2 separate regions of the Homo sapiens genome follow, and region 1 is linked to region 2. The links are contacts of gene promoters, found by promoter capture Hi-C in blood cells and fetal thymus (Javierre and others, 2016). All regions are on one chromosome and are shown on one strand. Each heading gives the region's core, a stretch centred on a gene start or on the middle of the fragment in contact. The rest is flanking DNA. Distances are from core to core; before and after follow the strand shown. Region 1 has its middle 30 kb from the start of RRAGC. Region 2 holds the start of MTF1 (metal regulatory transcription factor 1).

What was found. Contacts are between HindIII fragments. The CHiCAGO score rates a contact against its expected background, and 5 or more counts as called.
Region 1: a fragment that was not itself captured here is called in contact with the fragment with the promoter of MTF1 in region 2 in 1 of 17 cell types (non-activated CD4 T cells); the score reaches 5.2 in non-activated CD4 T cells.

The regions. Positions count from the first base shown.
Region 1 is chr1:38,826,313-38,832,327 of GRCh38, forward strand. No RefSeq gene overlaps it. Among named protein-coding and RNA genes, the nearest start is that of RRAGC, 30 kb to the right of the region's middle. The HindIII fragment of the contact is 3,409 bases long and covers 2,249-5,657 here.
Region 2 is chr1:37,854,495-37,860,857 of GRCh38, forward strand. MTF1 (metal regulatory transcription factor 1) reads right to left here and starts at 5,098. Exons shown (of 11, transcript NM_005955.3): 1 at 5,037-5,098; 2 at 2,757-3,215. The coding sequence starts at 3,164. It overlaps INPP5B (inositol polyphosphate-5-phosphatase B), which reads right to left. Exons shown (of 24, transcript NM_005540.3): 24 at 6,203-6,363. RefSeq lists a silencer at 5,035-5,364. The HindIII fragment of the contact is 3,574 bases long and covers 4,311-6,363 here.

The DNA.
Region 1 (6,015 bases), core at 2,703-5,202, 970 kb after region 2:
TATAAAAAGATTAATGTACATTTTTTACAAGAAATTAGTAGCTTAATGAAGTGGATAAAAACGCTGTCACAATTTTTATTGGATCTAAATTGCATAGTAGTGGAGGTACAGTAAGTGCCTTCTACATAATGACATAATGAGTCATGACTGGTGCTGGAAGGCTAATTTGCCCTTAACTGACACAAAACCAGGGAATTAACATCCCAGTCGCTCTACGCCAATAGCAGATGCATTATTTCATTGCACAGCAGGGTTTTTAACTAAACTCTTAACTGTAGAAATATTGATCTATTCTTCTGTGAAATGATGAAATTGGAATTTTTTAAAAGGACTTCTTAAATTATGGCTGCTGCAGTGACATTTGCTTTCACAGAACCATGCCTGCCTCCAGAGCAGATGCAACAGGAGAAGTGAGGTTAGGCTCATACCTGTGTTTTAGGGTCTGCAGTCAGAGGAGAAAGAAAGAGGGGACTTTATATGAGAGTAAATGCTCGCATTAAGCCACTGTGAGGAAGTGACAGACCATCTACAGGTGCCCAATTTCTGCAGTGACAGTGGTTGAACATTGTCCCAGCCCATAAACTGGTTTACTTTGAAGATTATTTCATACTTGGAAGTTGTTTTGAATAGAGCATCACCAAAACAGTGATATTCAATCTAAGTCTCAAATAAAATTTTAGTGGTGAAAGGTAGAATGGAAAGTAGTTGAAGTAGCTAGAGACCCCTATAAGAGGCAAGTATAAAGTGAGAGATGCTGTCCTGTCCCAATTTCCATTTTGTCATTCATTCATTCATTCATTCATTCCTCTATTTATTGGGTACCTACAGAGTGCCAGGGATGGTTAAATACTATAACCTATGGTGACTAATTATTGCTTCTGTCAGATAGTGTAATGCAACATATTTCTCTGTTTAACCAATGAATCAAAATTCATTTGGCTTTGAAATTTTAACAATAACTAAATTTAAATTTGTACTAACCACAGATACTTTGAGCTGTCACAACCCAGGAATTTAGAAGAAAGAAGAACAATGTACTGACAAACAGCTATACATCTGCCACCTCTTCACCTCTTGTGTGTCTCTCTTTGACACTTTGGGTTAGCACACACACACACAAAAAGCAGCAGCAAAAATAATTCTTCGTGCTTGAGGAGCTGAGAAACCAAACCTATTTAAGTCAATTGAACAAGCCTGCAATATGTCACATGACCTAGGCGTAGGCACACAGAGTAGCTAGAGGTAGTTTGATCCAGCCTAGAAGCTGGTGGTTCTCAACACTAACTGACATTAAGCCACATGGGAACAGCCTTATTTACTTATAATCATGCACCACATAATGACAATTTGCTCAACCATGGACCACACATACTACAGTGGTACCATATGATTTTATTTTTACTGTACCTTTTCTATGTTTAGATACGCAAATACTTAACCATTGTGTTGTAATTGCCTACAGTATTCAGTAAGTAACATGCTGTACAGGTTTGTAGCCTAGGAGCAATAGGCTACCCCCTATAGCCTAGGTATGTAGGAAGCTGTACCATTTCGGTTTGTGCAAGCACATCCTGTGATGTTCACACAGTGCTGAAATTGCCTAACATCACATTTCTCCGAATGTATCCCTGTCACTAAGCGGCACATGGCTATAGTTTGGGATGGGCCTGGTATCACTATTTTTTTTTATACTCACCCCAAGTGGTTCTAGTGTGCAACTATGGTTAAGAACCACTATAGACACGTAATAAAACAACAACAGAAACTGCACAGACCACGCTCAGAGGACTGGAAGAGCTGATCAGGCTCTGACGGAGAGCTGCAGCCAGGCCAGGTGAGAGTGCACAAGATGGCACTTGGATACTTTGCAGACTGCAGTCAATAAACTCGGGTCCCTGCTCTCAGTCTAAGACCATTTTCTACGACATATTAAAACCAATAAACACCTCCTCCTCCTATCCCCTTCAATTTTTAAAGGATTTTTAAAAATGCATATATGTATATTGTTAATTATAAAAAGGATACATATTCATTCACTGTAGAAAAATTGGAAAACACTGTTAATATGGTTTTAAAAAAGTAATGAGATGTTTCGAATCTATATTATTTTAAAGTACAAGAATCAATCTATTTAAGAACATCCTAAAATTGATGGCTAAAACATGTATGAAAGATCCCGTTCTTGTATTCTTATCAACATTGAATATCATCCTTTGAAAAAAATACCCATTTGATAAAGAGAAAGGGAAGCTTATTATTTTAGTGTTCATTTCTTCTATTATTAGTGAGGTTTTATGGGTTTTCATGGTTTTGGCCTCTTCTACTTCGTGTCACACACTAATATCTTTCCCTCATTTTGTTTTAGAATGTATTTTTTACTGATTTGTAAAATTGTATAAAAAATATTAACTTTCAGGCTGGGCGCAGTGGCTCATGCCTGTAATCCCAGCACTTTGGGAGGCCAAGGTGGGTGGATCATGAGGTCAGGAGTTTGAGACCAGCCTGGCCAGCATGGTGAAACCCCGTCTCTACTAAAAATACAAAAAATTAGCCAGGCATGGTGGCGGGTGCCTGTAATCCCAGCTACTTGGGAGGCTGAGGCAAAAAAATCACTTGAACCCGGGAGGTGGAGGTTGCAGTGAGCTGAGATCGTGCCATTGCACTCTAGCCTGGGCAATGAGAGTGAAACTCCATCTCAAAAAAAAAAAATTAACTTTCTCTATTATACATAATAAGCATATTTCCTAGTTTCTCTTGTTTAATTTAATAGTACGTTTTGACATAAACAATCTGTTCATTCTAGGTGTGTAAAGTCACACACACACCAGAATTTGTTGTTAAATCACCTCTAATGTTTATCCTCCTTATTCTCTTGATGTGTTGATATGTGTAGGGCTTGGAGTCAGAAGGTCAGCACTCATTGGCTTACCAGCTGCGTGATTTAGGGCAAGCCACTTCACTTCTCTGAGACTCCGTTCTCCCCCATCTGCATCCTAACTTTTGTCAGGTTGAAATTCAGTCAGCACTATAATGGCAAGGACTTTGCTCTCTTGTTCACTGATAGATCCTGGGAACCTAGAACACAGCCTTGCATCCAGCAAGCACTCACTAAGGATTTGTTGAATGAATGAATAAGCATCTGGCTTGGACCCCAGCCTCACTGTCACCCACAGCAAGCCCAGCAACCACTGCCCCTGAGCAGCCTTAAACGGATCACAAGTTGTGTCTCCCAGTCATGTTGTTTACATTTTTCCCATTCTTACCCAGCACAGTGAAGCCTGTACTGAGTGTATACTATGAAGCCAGCCCTGTGCCAGGCACCCCTACTGCATAAAAAAGAGGACTGGCAAATACACAGACTCTGCCCTTCAGCCTAGTGATTGCCCTTGCAGAATTTCATTAAATATACAGGATAATTGAAAAAGAAATTAGATGGGCCAAAATGTGGGCCAGGAATCTTCAAAATGTTGGGGCTCAGAACACAGTACCCTAAAGTGTGATGCCTGGACGTGCTGAATACTTTGAACTGAAGGAAAGGGGCTCAGAAGTCTCTTTCTGATCTTCTCCTGCTCTTCTTTCTCCTGCTCCCATTTTTACCTAAAGGCAGGCCATAAAACTGAAATTCTGGCTGGGCATGGTAGCTCACATCCATAATCCTAGCATTTTGATCCCAGGAGTTTGAGACCAGCCTGGGCAACATGGGAAAACCCTGTCTCTACTAAAAATACAAAAGAAAATTAGCTGGGCGTAGTGGCACTACCTATAGTTCCAGCTACTCAGGAGGCTGAGGTGGGAGGCTCCCTTGAGCACGGGAGGCAGAGGTTGCAATGAGCTGAGATCGCGCCACTGCACACCAGCCTGGGTGACAGAGCGAGTCTCTGTCTTAAAAAAAAAAAAAAAAAGCCAAGAAACAAAAAACTAGAATCCCTCTTCCCCAAGGTAGGTCATAGCAACTAGAACCCCTCTCTCCCAAAGCCAGCCATAAAATCTATAATGTTACTCTAACATTTTCCCACCTTTCTGTGTAAGAGCTAACCATAAGGAAATTCTCTGACCTACCTTGTCTGATAGTAGGTCTTAAGACCCTCATTCCAGGAGGTGTCCTGCCCTATACCCTGGAGGAAGGAATGTTGCATAGAAAGGCCAAGAAGAATCTGGACAGACCTTGCAGGGTGTCCCCCTTCAGTCTGTTACCACGAGGTCTTACCCTCTGTGTCCAATCCCATTTCTACACGGCTGTCCGTTCTTCATCTAATTGAAGCATAAAAATGGACAGTTTTCCCTGTGTCTCTGGTTTTCGTTTCTAAAGGCTCCCGTGTCATGTAAAACATTATTTCATTTTCTTTCCTTTTTTCTTTTTTTGAGATGAAGTTTCGTTCTTGTTGCCCAGGCTTGAGTGCAATGGTGCAATCTTGGCTCACTGCAACCTCTGCCTCCTGGCTTCAAGCGATTCTCCTGCCTCAGCCTCCCGAGTTGCTGGGATTACAGGCGCCCGCCATCATGCCCGGCTAATTTTTTTGTATTTTTAGTAGAAATGGGGTTTCACCACGTTGGCAGGCTGGTCTTGAACTCCTGACCTCAGGTGATCTACCCCCTTCAGCCTCCCAAAGTGTTGGGATTACAGGCGTGAGCCACCACGCCCGGCCCATGTCATGTAAAACTTTAAATAAATCTATTATGCTTTTCTCCTGTTAACCTGTCTTTTTTTTCTTTCTTTTCTTGCCTTGTCTTATGGTGCTGATCCTGTTAACCTGTCTTTGTCTGTTTTACTAGACCTGGCCAGGAACCCTCAGTGGGTTGAGGAAACTCTTCCTCCCCTCCACTGAGGAATGCCATCAAGAAGGGAGATGCCGAATCGAGGAAGCCTCGTTACAGAAGGGACCCGTCAGGGGACACGAAGGGCAGTGACCCTCGGACACACAGAGAAGAGGAAGCTGGCAGGCCAGAAGGGGGGAACTAATGAGCTAGGCTTATTTTTCCTCCCAAAATGATTGGCTTCATGTTCTACTTGACCACAAGACAATTACGTTTTATATTCATGATTTCCCTCACCCAGACTATTTTACTTGCTCATTGACACTTGTACCATATGCCAATGTATCAGTTTCAAGAAAAGCTCTCCTTTTATAGTTTTTACATATATAAGGGGCAGAATTGGAAATCCTAGGGAAAAAAATGTGAAATCCAGAACATGCAGCCAAGTCCAATTTTGCATTTCTGTTCTAAATAAGCCTCCTAAGTGGCTTATGCTCAGATTCACAACTGGTTCCTCACCTTTTTGGAGACTGAAAAGGCCAGGTTCTCTCTGTCCAGTTGGTACATATAATTTTGCACACAAATTCAGGGGCTCCTAAAGCCTCTGTAACCCATCCACGGACTCCTAAGATAGTTCGGTGATCTCCTCGCATGAGAAGTTCACTCTGATGAGTATCCAATAAACCCGACTTCAAATTCTAGTAATCACTATAATCTCTTTTGCCTAAGAAACATTATTTCTTTCTGGCATTTTGTAACTGGTCACAAAAACTGGATCTTTCTGGTTCATTCACCCACTATCTGCCTGAGCTCATAGCCAAGAATCATGACCCATACAGTATGTTAGTGTGTAAGTTAGGGTAACACTAGCTGTTATAATAGATAAAGCCCATAATCTCAAAAGCTTAACAGCAGAGACATCTATGTACTGCTCATCAGTCCAATGCAAGTGTTTCTGGTCAGCAGATGAGCCTTCCACTGTGTGATCCAGGAATCCAGATTCCTTCCGTGTCAAGGCTCTGCATTTTCAACAGTGTTTCTGTGCTCATCTGCAGTGATCTAGTAGAAGGGAAAAGAACATGGAGGATCATGCCTGAGATGATTACATGGGCTACGCCTAGAAATGGAATATGTCACCTCCACTCACATTCCATTGGTAGAACTCACATAGCCATCCCTAATTGCAAGAGTGGCTGGAAATATTATCTCTATGCAAAAGGAGAAGAAAGCTTATTCTGCCTCTGCCACAACGGGTGTGTA
Region 2 (6,363 bases), core at 3,848-6,347:
CTCTACCCACTAGATTCCAGTATCGCCTCCACAGTATGACAATACAAAATGTTTCTAGACATTGCCAAACATCTCCTGAGGGCAAAGCTGCCCGCAGTTAAGAAGCACTACTCTAGAAATTTCCAACTATAAGCTAACAGTAAGATGTTGCTGATAAAATGTAGACTATATAGTAATTGTAGTACAGTGTCCAGATTAAGAGATAAGAGCCATACTGTATTCAGTGCTAGTTGACTCACACTTATGAGACTGCGCTCAACTGCAGATTTTAAAAGGACTCTGGGGCCGGGCGCGGTGGCTCATGCCTGTAATCCCAGCACTTTGGGAGGCCAAGGCAGGCATATCCCCTGAGGTCAGGAGTTCGAGATCAGCCTGACCAACATGGAGAAACCCTGTCTCTACTAAAAATACAAAATTAGCTGGGTGTGGTAGCGCATGCCTGTAATCCCAGCTACTTGGGAGGCTGAGGCAGGAGAATCGCTTGAACCTGGGAGGCGGAGGTTGCAGTGAGCCGGGATCACGCCACTGCACTCCAGCCTGGGCAACAACAGCAAAACTCCATCTCAAAAAAAGAAGAAAAAAAGGACCTTGGAAAACTGGAATTCATATAATCAAAGGTGACTAGGCTGATGAGAGACTGGGGAAAATGTCACAGAGGGACATTTAAGTAAATGGAGGTGGTTAGCCTGTACAAGAGGAAGAAAAATCCATGATCTTCAAATAGCTGATGGACTGTTCTGTGGGAGAAAGTTTACTCAGGAAGGCAGATCTAGAACCAGTGGGCAGCACCTGCAGAAAGGCAGGTTTTGGTTCTATACAAGTAAAAGCTTTCTAACAATCAGAGCTGGCTAACAAATGTATTGGGTTGGGGTATGAAACACTCTGCTCTTGTTGTTCTGGATGTCTTCAAGCAGAAACAAGATTAACTGATGTCAGGGATGCCATAGGGAGATTTCTGCATAGGGTAGGAGGTGGGACAAGATGGTCTCTCTAAGGCTAGCAAAGGAAAAGTGATATGCCATCAATAAGCCATATGCAATTTTAAGACCTCAACCACAGCAAAAAAGATATTCCTTGCTAAATCATTCACCCTATTTCTGTTTGGTAACATCTTAGTCCTTGGTACTGTAACTACTAGTGACTTATTTTTTTCTAATTGACCTGTAATAGTTCCTGGATGGGCCGGGCATGGTGGTTCATGCCTGTAATCCCAGCACTTTGGAAGGCCAAGGCAGGTGGATCACCTGAGGTCAAGAGTTCGAGACCAGCCTGGCTAACATGGTGAAACCTCATTTCTACTAAAAATTCAAAAAATTAGCTGGGCATGGTGGTGCGTGCCTGTAATCCCAGCTACTCAGGAGGCTGAGGCAGGAGAATTGCTAGAACCCAGGAGGCAGAGGTTGCAGTGAGCCAAGATCGCACCACTGCACTCCAGCTTAGGCAACAAGAGTGAAACTCCATCTCAAAAAAAAAAATAGTTCCTAGATAATGTATATCACTACCTTTAAACCAGAACTTTTATTCTGCTAATAATAACCACTAATATAATTTGTAAAATGCTTTACAGTTTTCAAAACATCCTGACATGCATTAGCTTACTCACATTAGCTAAACATGAAAATGAAAACTTATTTTAGATAACCTGCTCTCATTTACTGTCTCTTGCCTGAATTTCCTTTTTTTTTTTTTTTTTTTTTTTTTGAGACTGAGTCTCTCTCTCTCATCCAGCCTGGAGTGCAGTGGCACGATCTTGGCTCCCTGCCACCTCCACCTCCCAGATTCAAGTAATTCCCCTGCCTCAGCTTCCCAAATAGCTGGGATTACAGGCACCCGCCACTATGCCTGGCTAATTTTTCTATTTTTAGTACAGATGGAGTTTCACCATGTTGGCCAGGGTGCTCTTAACCTCAGGTGATCCACCTGCCTCGGCCTCCCAAAGTGCTGGGATTACAGAAAGTGTTAGGATTACAGGCATGAGCCACTGTGCCCAGCCTGAATTTCTTTCTTTTTTTTTTTTTTTTTTTAGATGGAGTCTCACTCTATCGCCCAGGCTGGAGTACAGTGGCATGATCTCGGCTCACTGCAACCTCTGCCTCCCGGGTCCAAGTGATTCTCCTGCCTCAGCCTCCTGAGTAGCTGGGATTACAGCCATGTGCCACCAAGCCTGGCTAATTTTTGTATTTTTAGCAGAGACAGGGTTTCACCATGTTGGCCAGGCTGCTCTCGAACTCCTGACCTCAAATGATCCACCCGCCTCAGCCTCCCAAAGTGCTGGGATTACAGGCGTGTGCCACTGTGAAATAAAAGTTCATTAAACATTCACTAAGATAATAAAACATATTCCAGCAGATACTCATCTCTAAAACAAATCATTTAAACACAACCAGGAGATAAGCCAAATATAGTTATTTCTTCATCAAATAAGCAAACTCCAGTTATTTCCCTGTAGATAAGCTAAATAGTTATTTTAGCACCAGAAACATGGGTCTACTTAAGTGAAATTTCTGTTTTATTTATGATTTGGGGAAGGAAATTCGAGAAATTACAATTTGATATTCCCAAATTTCAATGTGGCTATACAAACCAAAAGTTCCAGAAGCAATCACAACAAAACCTGAGGCATATGTTGTTGATAGCAAAACTACTTAAGTCCTAACCCCATGCACTCCTTTACTCCCCAGCTAAAATTTGCACCAAGAATTTTGTAAGGACTTGCCCCAAAACCAAACTAGGCCCTCACTGACTGCTTTACTTACTTCTTTACGTTTTGTTTCCGGACATTCCGACTGCAGAGTGAGGGTTGCACCTTCAATATTTCTTGGCATGGGTGTGGAACCAGGGTTTATTGTCAAATGAATCTGATCTGGTGAGATAATGTGCTGCACATAACCCTGGGACATTGCTTCATGATCTATCAGGTGAAAGCCCTCTTCACCCCCTACTAGAAAAGGCAAGTGTTCTCCGCACTGTCCGTCGTCATCTTCATCCTCCAAAGTGCCAGGGTCCTGCTCAATAAGAACAGTGGTCCTATCATAAACAGTTCCAGATGAGGAAGGCACCAGTCCGTTTTTATCCACAAACCTGAGCATTTTATCATCGGGGGTCAGCTCATCTTCCTCTGCCTCAAAGTAGATGATGTTGTTGTCTGGACTGTGTTCCCCCATGGTTCAGTTGTGCTCAGCCCAGTTGTGAGAAATGAAAACGTAATGACTTGTCTGCAACAGAACAAAGCCAGAGTTAGAGTCATACCACAAGACCGACGGACCTCCTCAGCAACCACAAGGCTCATTTTCCCTCTCACTTAAAGAGCAAGCCAAAGCAAATGAAAAACCATCCTTGGGAATAATTTTTTTATTTTAACTTTAAAACCATCAAGTCATTTTTAAAGAAAAGCAATGCCGACTGGGCGTGGTGGCTCACACCTGTAATCCCAACACTTTGGGAGGCTAAGATGGGAGGATCGCTTGAGGCCAGGAGTTTGAGATCAGCCTGGTCAACATAGTGAGACCCCCATCTCTAATAAAAAAAAAAAAAAAAGAAAAAGAAAGAAAAGCAATGCTTTTCAAAAACTGAATAAGTTCATAAGACCTTCTGAATACGCCTGTCAAACAATTTGAAACTTGGTCAAAATATTTAAAGGGGACAAAAGAGCAAACAGAACAGCAGCTGCTGAAAGGCTGAGTTGCTACAAATCTTAAGGGAAACTCCATCCATTCAAATATCCTCCAAATCAGACCACGAGGCAGTAAATGGTTTCATGCAGTTTATGGTAGAAGGAGCAAGGCTTTGGAGGCAGAGTCATCTACCTACAAATCCTGTCTTTGCCTTTTACTACATGGGTAACTTTTCTGTGCCTCATTTTTCTTACGTGCAAGGTGGGACCAGTAATTCCTGTTCTCTCAAAGTTTTTATAAGAAATAAAAGAGGCAACATATGTAAAGCACAATGTTTGGTAAATAGTAGAGGAACAAGTATGAATTCCTTCCCCCCTACCTAGAACAGATGTTTCAACCTTCTGGGTGGAAGGGCTATTCCTCAATCAGGCACAAACAACGAAGATCACTGTATCTATTTATGTCCTAAAACAATATGGTGTCAACAAGAAGTTATGGTTCTGTGGTGGGCTCTCGTCCCTGAATCAATTGAGTCTTATTATTTTTGTTTCTACAGCTCCTAGCATAGTACACTGATACTATGATAAGAGTTCAGGAAATGTCAGCTAAATGACTGAAAGACATGGCTACCTACTCTCTCGTGAAGATATACTATCTTGGGAAGATACATTCTCTTGAGAAAAATACCACATTTGAAGCTTTCATGTTCTGGAATAGTGATTCTTCCTTCATCTGCAAACACAGGCTCTACAAATGTGGGTTTGGCAGGCAGAATAGAGAATTTTAAAATAATCAGCACATCCCTTTTAGTTTTCAGTCTGGCTTTGCGCTTTATCTTTCTCTTCTGCTCTGGGTTAGAAAGTGAGCCTTTACTTAGTGGGATGGCTAGACAGTTACCAGAGACAGGCCAAAGGATTGGATCCGGGAGGTACCGGCCCGACCCCTAGCTCTGGCTTACGCAACCCCACAGATGTACATTTCGCTGCATCTGAGCAGAGAGAGAAGAGCACCGAGGGCCCCAGTGGGCTGCCCCGGCACCCTCGGCGGCAACGCGGAGACCAACTGTCCGAAACAAACAAGACCAGGAGGTTTGAGGGTAGCCAACGAGGAGTGCGAACAGAGCCCCCTTGAGAGGAGGCTGGGAAAAGGAACCTGTCTGGGATAGCCCCCAGCACAGGGCTACACAGAAAAATCCGAAGACAAGCTGGGGGTCTCCAAGCAAGGAGGAGAGGGGCAGGGTCCGGGTCTCCATGGAAACAGGGAAGGGGGGCTGGATACCCATCCCCATGGAAACGGAGAAGGGGTGGGGTCCCTATGGTGACCAAACTGAGGTCTCTATTGGGAAATGCTTCAGGAGGGAGCCTAAGTCCCGCGCCTCCCGGTAAGTCCCAAGCCCAGGCCGAGTCTAGTTTCGCCTTTTACCTCCGCGGCTCCCGGCAACGGCGGCAGCAGCAGCTTCTCCCCTCCCCAGCGGCACCATGATTGCCCCCACCTTCCCCTAACGTCACTTCCGCTTCCTCTTTCCGGAGGAAGGTGGGGACAGAGGATCCGCCCCTCCCTGGCGCCTCTGGTTGGCTCAGGTTGTCAGGGGGCTGAGCTGCAGCCTCCAATTGGCGAGCGGGGCACCGAGGGGAAGGCGCCCAGGAGGTGGGTTCATCCGCGTGGGGAAGCGCCCGGGGTGGCCACGCGGGGCCCGGAGGGTGTCGCCCTCGCGGCACCGGAGTCAAGGAGAAGGGAACGAATCCCCAAGGAAGAATCCGAAATGTCCTCAGCCAGGTTTGCGCTGACCGCCCTCGCCCTGGCAGCCACAGCCGCAGCGGGAAGGACCACAGTTGGCAGTCAGAACCCTGGCTCCAACCCGCCAGGGGAGCCTGGACGGCCGCGACGTTCCCGGGTTTCTCCTGCCGGGACCCCGGCCTTCCCTTCAGCACCCATCAAAGTTAACACAGGCAGGAGGCCCAGAAAGGAAGACAAGACCCCAAAGGCAGAACTAAGAGTATTCTAAGCCCAGCTGGAGAGGACGCCGCCGCCTCTTCCCCTTCTCACGCGCTTGCCTAGGACCCCCAGCTCCCTTCTCACGCGCTTGCCCAGGCTGGCGGTCCCAACTTTCTTCCCCTGCAAGAGGACGCGGCTACGGCGGGACTCATGCCCGGGCCAGTTAGCGCCACCTACCGGCCACTCCCTTCCTTTCACCGTTCACATTGTCCTGCTGGCCCGCGTCTTAAACCCATTTCACAGTGCCCAGAAGTAGTGGGCATTCGTACCCAGGAAGCGATTCTGCCTTCGTTATGCCCCTGTCCTTTCCAAATGCCTGGAGGATCTAGCTGTTAGATCCTCCCAGCTGCCACTGCCTGTTTTAACCATAAGCTGCTTCTCTCGAATATTCAGAGTGGGACAACTCCAAAGACCAGACCAGGGGTCAAGGGGTTCAGGTCAGTGCCATAACCATTTCTTGCTGGAAGTATGTGAATAGTGACTGGTACCCACCAGACTGCCAGGAATATGTCTCTTTGGCCCCAAGGCTTGAGCCACAAAATCCAGCTGCAGCGAACTGCCATCTCTTAAGACATAAAAACATACACAACCGCCACTGTTAAAAATACATTTATCATTAAAATATATTACACATGGAGACAGGATGCATCATATACAGTTTGGAAGACTTGCTGGCCCAGAAAATCCCACTTGTTTCACCGAACACTCATTTTTTCAGTGATTTTACATTTTATTTTTAGAGACGGGGTCTCCC